Regions from separate parts of the Homo sapiens genome. Here region 1 is linked to region 2. The links are contacts of gene promoters, found by promoter capture Hi-C in human tissues and cell types (Jung and others, 2019). All regions are on one chromosome and are shown on one strand. Each heading gives the region's core, a stretch centred on a gene start or on the middle of the fragment in contact. The rest is flanking DNA. Distances are from core to core; before and after follow the strand shown. Region 1 overlaps LOC105377989 (a long non-coding RNA gene). Region 2 holds the start of RSPO3 (R-spondin 3).

Region 1 (3,832 bases), core at 710-3,209, 160 kb before region 2:
ATTATGGCTTATTTATTTTCAACCCTTTGATTTCCAATAAATTGTTTGCCACCAATTTGCAACCATAAAATGCACTGAATGAGTATATGAATGAATACCTACATTTGTAAATCCAAGAAGTATTTTCCTCCTTTTTCTGGTAAAAAATATTTGGGCATTTCTGAATCATATTCTGAGTTTCTTATTATTTTAACTAACATGTACAAGAATTGCTACTATTATTTTTGTATGAAAATATTGTAAGTAGTTGATAAAACAAAAGAGAAATGCCTAAAGTTATTTTAAATAAATCAAATATGATAGAAAGCATTTGTGTTACAGAAAAGGGGAAAAAATTAAGACTTTATATTGAACTTACCTCCCCACCCTCAGCACAACCACATGAACCCATGAATTTACTGTAGTATAGTTTTCTACTCTCAAAAAAACATAAGTTAGTCAAGGATAAGAGAACTGACCTTCAGTTTCATGTTTGTGGACTTAATTGCTATAAGGAATCAGAATATATTTTCTGTGGCACAATACTTTCATAGTGAAGCAGCCGCAATACCACTAATGCAGAGCACAAGCTCCAAGCATTCTGGACCTTCCAGGCATTTTTGTGGCTTGGCATTGATGAATGCAGGTGAGATATAGGTTGCAGTTAGGATCAAATTACAACAAACACTGCCTCTTCCAAAAATATGAGTTGCTTAAACAACTTCCCTATTACCTTGGGAGAGGATGCCTGTCCATCAACAGCTGGGACTTTAGAGCAAGTTCTCACAATTGTATCTTTTCAGTGAGCACAAAATCTGAGCCCAGTCAAAATAAAAACAATAATAAATGACCCTTCCCTCACATTTCCACAACAACCTTGTGTGGTGAACAATGTGACTTCCTTCTATCTTTTCTTCTCCTTCTCTATTCTGAATGGTATACTTTTACCTGCAACGAATTGAATTTATGTATAAGATTATTTCTTAATTTCAGAAATGAGTGAAAAAAAAGGAATAAGACCAGTACACACATGTATCTTATAGAAATATTCTCATTACTTTCCAGATCAGCCTAACAATGACATTTACCTCTTATAGAATCCCCTAATACATAGGCCATCATTTATAAGAATGCAATCTGTTCTTTTCTTATATTTTTTCCACTAATTTCTTCCTAGCTTGGTTATATCAAATAACAACATAATATAGCTTAGAAAACACCATGTGTGACATATATGCTATGCTCAATATTTTGTGGTTATTATTATTTTTACTATTTTGAGACAAGATCTGGCTCTGTTGCCCAGGCTGGATTGCCATGGCACAATCACAGGTCACTGCAGCCTCAACCTGGGCTCATGCTATTTTCCTGCCTCAGCCTCCCTAGTAACTGGGACTACAGGCTTACACCACCACACCCTGCTAATTTTTGTATTTTTTGTACAGATGCAGTTTCACCATGTTGCCCAGGCATATCTTGTACTCCTGGGCTCAAGTTATTCACCTGCCTTGGCCTCCCAAAGTGCTGGGATTACAGGCATGAGCCACGGTGCTTAGCCACTTTGTAGTTATTAATATGTCATTAACATAAGATATTCCTTCTTAAGGTTAAAAAATGTATAGCCTCTGATTTTTTCACACTCATATTATTTTAATTTGTTTTCCTGGTATAATAAACATGAGCTATTTCCTATAGTTCTCCATTGCTGTTGACTATATTCATACTATATCTCCAGTTATTCTTTGTGATTGATTGTCTAAGATGAAATTTATTTTTTGAAATACAGTGACTTTTCTGAAGTCGATAGATCTTTACATTCACCACTTCTTATGTGGGTTGATTTCTCAGTATTTTGAGAATATGTCTTGAGAATAAGTACTTATGTGGTTTTTGACACAGCAACTAAGACTTGTTGCATTTCACACAATGAACCAAATATTGTGGGGTCCAACACTTGGATCCATATTGTACTAAACACAGCTCTGATTTATAAAAGAAAGACTTTAAAACATCCAGAAAACAATACTAAAAATTTTAGATTATTCTTACAGAATGAAGTCCTCATACATCATCAATCATTTTCCTTTGTTTCACTTCTCTGTGATGTTTCTTCTTACCACTCTCAACAAACTCCCTGTGGATATTTTGACCTTAAGACAACTACCACCATTCTTATAGCTACACAAAAAGGCATTTATTACAGTCAGATCAATGCAAAACTGATGTAGTTAAGCCATTTTCTGATTATCTCCCTCTCCAATACATCTCTGATGAATGCTTTCCACTAACTCAAACATTCCAACCAATTTGTGTTTGGTTCTTTTGTTTTGTTTTGACAAGGACAAATTGAATTTCTCATTGCCCAGGAACATACTTGCAACCACCATAATTATTTATATGTGCATTGGTAGAAATTTCAGCCCTTCAGAACATTTTTTAGTCATAGAAGACTGCTCATGTTGGAAACAACAGAAAGTTACCACATAGTACAAATTCAGCCTTTGTATGGAATATTTCCATTAGCAATGTTAAAGATGGTGAGAATTTGCTGTTAATCAAATAGGAAATGTCAATAAAATGGGACAGGCTGGGGATTAGACAATGAAACAGGCTTCTAACTTCTACATCATTTATGTGGCCCTATGAAGTCTGACGGAACCATAATGATTCATCGCCTCCTGGTATTAGAACCAAGCACTTGGGTTCTGAAGTTAGGAAAGAGTCTGGGTAGCTCAGACATAGTTTTGACAATGCCAAAACAAGCTTGGAAAGGGAAGCAGTCAGTCTAACCAATGATTTGGCAGCATAAAAACCCAACAAGTATGTTAATTGATGTTTATTTTAATATCGAATGTAGTCAAATCCTTTTTATGTAAAACCAATCCATTTAAGTAGACACCCTCTGAAGAAGAATAATTGAGCAACATGGGTCAAAGTATCAACTGAGCTGTTCTTGAAAAGTAACAAAAAGAGGCTGAAACTTTTTGATGAGGTTTTAAAATGAAAGACAAGGGAGATGTATATGAAAACTATTAATCCCTTTAGATTGCGTATGCCAGCATTAGTCAACATTTGGAGAGTAAAAAAAAAAATCTCACCAAATTTTAGTGCTCAAAGGCTATAAAATATGAATGTGTTAGTTAAATATTTGCAAAAGGCCTTTAAAATATTAAAATATTAACATTTTAATTCAACAAAGAGGGTCCTTAGAGTTATGAAATGTTATGCACTACAATTCCAATCTTTGATTTGGGGAATTTATCTACATTAAAATATACTTTGAACAAACCTGCTTTTTCTCTTATAACTGTTTCTGGTTTTACTTTTGCTGACTGTGCTAACATGTTGCAAGATATATTCTTTCAATTGATAAAATCATGATATGTATAGGCACCTTACTAATTCCTAAGCACATCCATTACACTCAAAACCAAAGAACCACATTATGCTTGATACATGACTAGTTATGGCTTATTCTACTGTGAGTCCTACTAATCAGTGCTTCCTGGTCAAACAAGGTAAAAGTTTCACATCAGAAAATACATAACATAAATATAACATAAAGTCACATATCAGAAAACACAAATCAAGGTTAGTAATACTTTCACTTAACTAGGACAATAATAATGTAATAACATTATAGTAATAACCATATGTCAAGAACCCACTGAATACCTGACACAGAAAATGGCAATTTAGATATTCTTTTTTATTCAATCATTAAAGAAATCTTAAGGTCAGTATCAATTATTCCAATTTTACAGATAAGGAAAATTGCTAAGTAGCTTATCCAAAATTAATCACACTATTCATGTGAAGCTGAAACGGAGATCCAGATGTGATTGTACTGAGA
Region 2 (3,914 bases), core at 20-2,519:
ACTTGGGCTGGGAAGATAAGAAAGTAGTGGACCTTCCCCTTCCTTCCCCAAGACTGGGAAAATCTTTCCAAATCTTATTCCCAGTCTTCCAGATGCGAGATTAGAATGTACAACAGATCCTCTCAAGAACACTGGGAGACCGAGGGTGGGAGAGAAAACTCCAAGGGGGGCGAGCTGACTATAGAGGGAATTGCCTGAGCGGGAAAGGAATCTTCCAAAGCCACAGAAAAGCCTTGGTTTGGAAGAAAGCCGTAGCACAGCTGCATTTCCAACGGGAAGGTCCTGAGCGCACACACTTCTGGGTCCTCCCCGCTCGGAGCAGGTAAACCTCAGAGTAGCTGACCGGCAGCACCCACAGAGTTTCCTCCCCACCACCCGCCTGGCGACCAACTGCAGCCGAAAAGAAAGAAAGAAAGGAAAGAAAGAAAGAAAGAAGAAGGAAGGAAGGAAGGAAGGAAGGAAGGAAGGAAGGAAGGAAAGAAAGAAAGAAAGACAAAGAAAGAGGAAGGAAGAAAGAAAGAAAAGAAAGAAAGAGAAAGAAAGAAAGAAAGAAAGAAAGAAAGAAAGAAAGAAAGAAAGAAAGAAAGAAAGAAAGAAAGAAAGAAAGAGAGAGAAAAAGAAAAAGGGAGAAAGGCAACAGAGGAGAAGGTCAGGAAAGCCGGGAACAAGTCAGCAGCCAGAAACTCTCCAGCGATCTGCCAAGGGGGAGAGGGTAGTTGCGCGCCGGCGCTGGGGATGGGGTGGGGGCGCTGGGGCACAAGGGCGCAGGGGCGCACGGCCACCGACAGCCGGGTGCGCCTAGCTTGAGGCCGCGGAGAGGAGCCGAACTGGGATGGGTGGGGGGTCTTCGGCCTCAACACTGCCTGCCAGCCCCAGTGCGCCCAAGTCTCCCCGCCAGAGCTGCCCTTCTGGAGGGGCTCTTCGCACGCACTGCTTTCCCCATTCTTCTGGCTGGAATTCTCCGGCCGTCACTGCAGTGTCCAGAGATGCTGCGCTGTAGACCCGGGACCCCTTAGGCGCCTCTTCCCGTCCCTCTGCCAAAGCGCAACGCCTGTACTTTTCCAGCTCCCTCTTTCCCTCTTGAAATTGAAAGTTATTGAGGTCGCTCAGGGTTGTTGCTCCAGCAGTTTCCTTCCCCGCCCCCGAGCTCCCCCCCGCCCCCCACAGCCATCCCCCCTCCTCTCCCCCTCCCTGCCCTCCTCTCCCTCCCCCCTCCCTGCCCTCCTCCTCCTCCTCCCCTATGTGGTGCTCCCGGGAGCCCAGCCCAACACTGGAGCGTCTCCTGCTCGCGCACGCCAGAAGCAGCTCGGGGTCTCTCCGCCGCCCCTTGGCCATGGCCGCTGTGCCGACGGCGCCCGCTCCCCTGCGCTCCAGGGGCCCCCGCCGCTGCAGCCGCAGCCGCCGCAGCTTCTGAGCCCAAGGGGCCGCCGCTGCAGCCGCCGCCGCCGCCGCTCGCCCGCCCGGATCCCGCCTGCGGCAGTTGCCGCACAACATGCTACCTGCGGCCGCCCCGGCGGCTCCTGGAACCCCGGTTCGCGGCGATGCCAGCCACCCCAGCGAAGCCGCCGCAGTTCAGTGCTTGGATAATTTGAAAGTACAATAGTTGGTTTCCCTGTCCACCCGCCCCACTTCGCTTGCCATCACAGCACGCCTATCGGATGTGAGAGGAGAAGTCCCGCTGCTCGGGCACTGTCTATATACGCCTAACACCTACATATATTTTAAAAACATTAAATATAATTAACAATCAAAAGAAAGAGGAGAAAGGAAGGGAAGCATTACTGGGTTACTATGCACTTGCGACTGATTTCTTGGCTTTTTATCATTTTGAACTTTATGGAATACATCGGCAGCCAAAACGCCTCCCGGGGAAGGCGCCAGCGAAGAAGTAAGTGCAGGGTTTTTTACGCGTTTGCTCCCTCCCGCCGCGTTCACCTGTCGGGTCGCTTTGCCTGTCCGGAGCCGGCTCCCAACTGCAGCGGTCCTCCCGCCCTGCGCCTCGCAGAGGAGATGCAGGTTCGGGCTTTGGGGGTATGGACGGCGTCTTTCACCCTTGCCTCTCGGCGCCCCTGCCTTCCGCAGCATCCTAGCCGGTGCGAGGGGCGGGCGGACGCGGCGCTAAGGTGGCTCCCGCCCCATGGTAACTTCAGGTTCGCGGGAAAGTTCGGTCCTGGGTTAGACTCGCACCCGGGATTTGTGCTTTCCTTTTGAGGATCGGACAGGGGCACCCAGCCGAAGGCACTTGGGACTCCCAGACGCAGGATGCCTCTGACCGCTGAGTAAATGACAAGGGAGGCGCGGCCGCGGTACCCGCTCACCTAGCGCAACCGCCTCGCGCGGGGAGACCTCGGCTGGGCCCTTAGGCTGGACTCCGGTAGCCGAACGCCCGCTACCCGGCCAGGAAGCCAGGGAGCGAGCGCCTGCGCGGCCGCATCCCCGACACGCACCAGCGGAGCCAAAGGGCGCGCGAGGCGATGGGGTTCGCGTGTCTGCGCGTTTGCAGAGCTGCCGGACGTCCCCCGCCCGAGGGTTGAAGACAGCAAAACCCCAGCTGTGGGGAGCCGGAGGTGCGGAGTTTCCAGGTTCTCTCTTGTCACATGTGAGCGTCTGTACCATCTCTGGCCCTTTCAAGTGTGTCCCCTGGGACACACACGTACAGAGAGTGGGGTCTCCCTAAAGATTCGCCTCCTCGCTGCCCTTAATGCTGTTATTTGGAGGGTTGGATTGTGATGGCTTCTTAAGACGGTGTCCTAGCTGGAATTAAGCGGACACCACCACGGCAGCCTCAACCTGGGTTGGTCTGTCTGAAAGGTAGAATCTTCCCAAGATGAAGGGACAGATGCGAAGGTGTCACCTCTCCTCGCTCCAGGGTAGCCTGGCGCCCTCGCTGCTCTAGTGTCTGTGTTCCCATGGGGAGTCCTTTCGCAGATCTCAGAGCAGGGGCGACCCTGGCTCTATGGTTGGGGGCGCTGGTGGAGAGAGGGAGGAGGAAACTTCTCCTGGAGCTCGCGAGGGGCAGGAAGCGATGCTGCTGCTCTGGGCTCTCGCACCTCCGCGGCGTGCAGCCCAGGCCCAGCGGCCCCACCTGGTTTCCCAAGGGGATCCCTCTCCCAGCGTCCCGCCCGGGAAGCCTTTCGGGGCAGACGTCGGGGCAGCGCGGAGGACACAACACCGGCTTGTGTGAGATGGAAATTTAGTAATCGCTTCTCGGCCGCTGTTTGTCCCTGCCCTGCCCCTGGGCATGAGGGTCCCCTGAAAGCTCCCTTTGTATTGCTGGCCTCGGCCAGACAAGGTTTGATTCACCTGAAAATTGCCTTTTAAAAAGGTGGCAGTGCCAGAGCGACAGGGGCCCTGGCCGGGCCTCACCGCCTTTAGGATCACCTAGCAGGGGGCAGGAGAGCCCAAACTAAATATGTCAGGGCATCCGATTTATTATTCTTGGCCTCCGAATGGTGTGTACTCTGGTAACTCCCCACCCACTCTTTCATTCCGGCCCGGACGCGGAAGGGGAGGCCTGGGGTTCAGCGGTGTCCACGCGCCTGGCGGTCCCCGCCTCCTCTCCTCCCAGGGTCTGGCCTGGGGAATTGAGTCTCAGGGTCAGTGGGCATAGGGAGCCCGGGCTGGAGCGCAACCCACTCTGCTTTCCATCCGCTCTTCCAGCCCGTGCCCATTGGGCGTCCCAGAGCACGCTCTCTCCTTTACCCCCACCGAGGACCCCCGGGCTGGGAGCCACACACTTGTCAAGGAGGGACAGGGTACTGAGTGTCAGAGGCGTCTCGCTTTGCAGTTTTGGGGCCCCTGATTCTGAAGGAAGACACAGGAAAGAAAGCTTGTAGTCCTTTTGTGCCCACCTCCCCCAGCGAGGACCACGGCGCAGGAAGCTTTCCCCGGGCGCTGCCTCAGGGAGCTGTGGG

Evidence for each region. The method cuts DNA at HindIII sites, captures the fragments that hold promoters and counts their contacts. A contact is called where the count stands out against the background at its distance.
Region 1: a contact is called between a fragment that was not itself captured here and the fragment with the promoter of RSPO3 in region 2, in 1 of the 25 tissues and cell types used here (adrenal gland).

The regions. Positions count from the first base shown.
Region 1 is chr6:126,955,212-126,959,043 of GRCh38, forward strand. All of the region lies in intron 7 of LOC105377989 (a long non-coding RNA gene), which reads right to left. Among named protein-coding and RNA genes, the nearest start is that of RSPO3, 160 kb to the right of the region's middle. The HindIII fragment of the contact is 6,473 bases long and covers 1-3,832 here.
Region 2 is chr6:127,117,402-127,121,315 of GRCh38, forward strand. RSPO3 (R-spondin 3) reads left to right here and starts at 1,270. Exons shown (of 5, transcript NM_032784.5): 1 at 1,270-1,888. The coding sequence starts at 1,792. LOC105377989 (a long non-coding RNA gene) reads right to left here. Exons shown (of 14, transcript XR_002956387.2): 4 at 1,500-3,914. The HindIII fragment of the contact is 6,946 bases long and covers 1-3,914 here.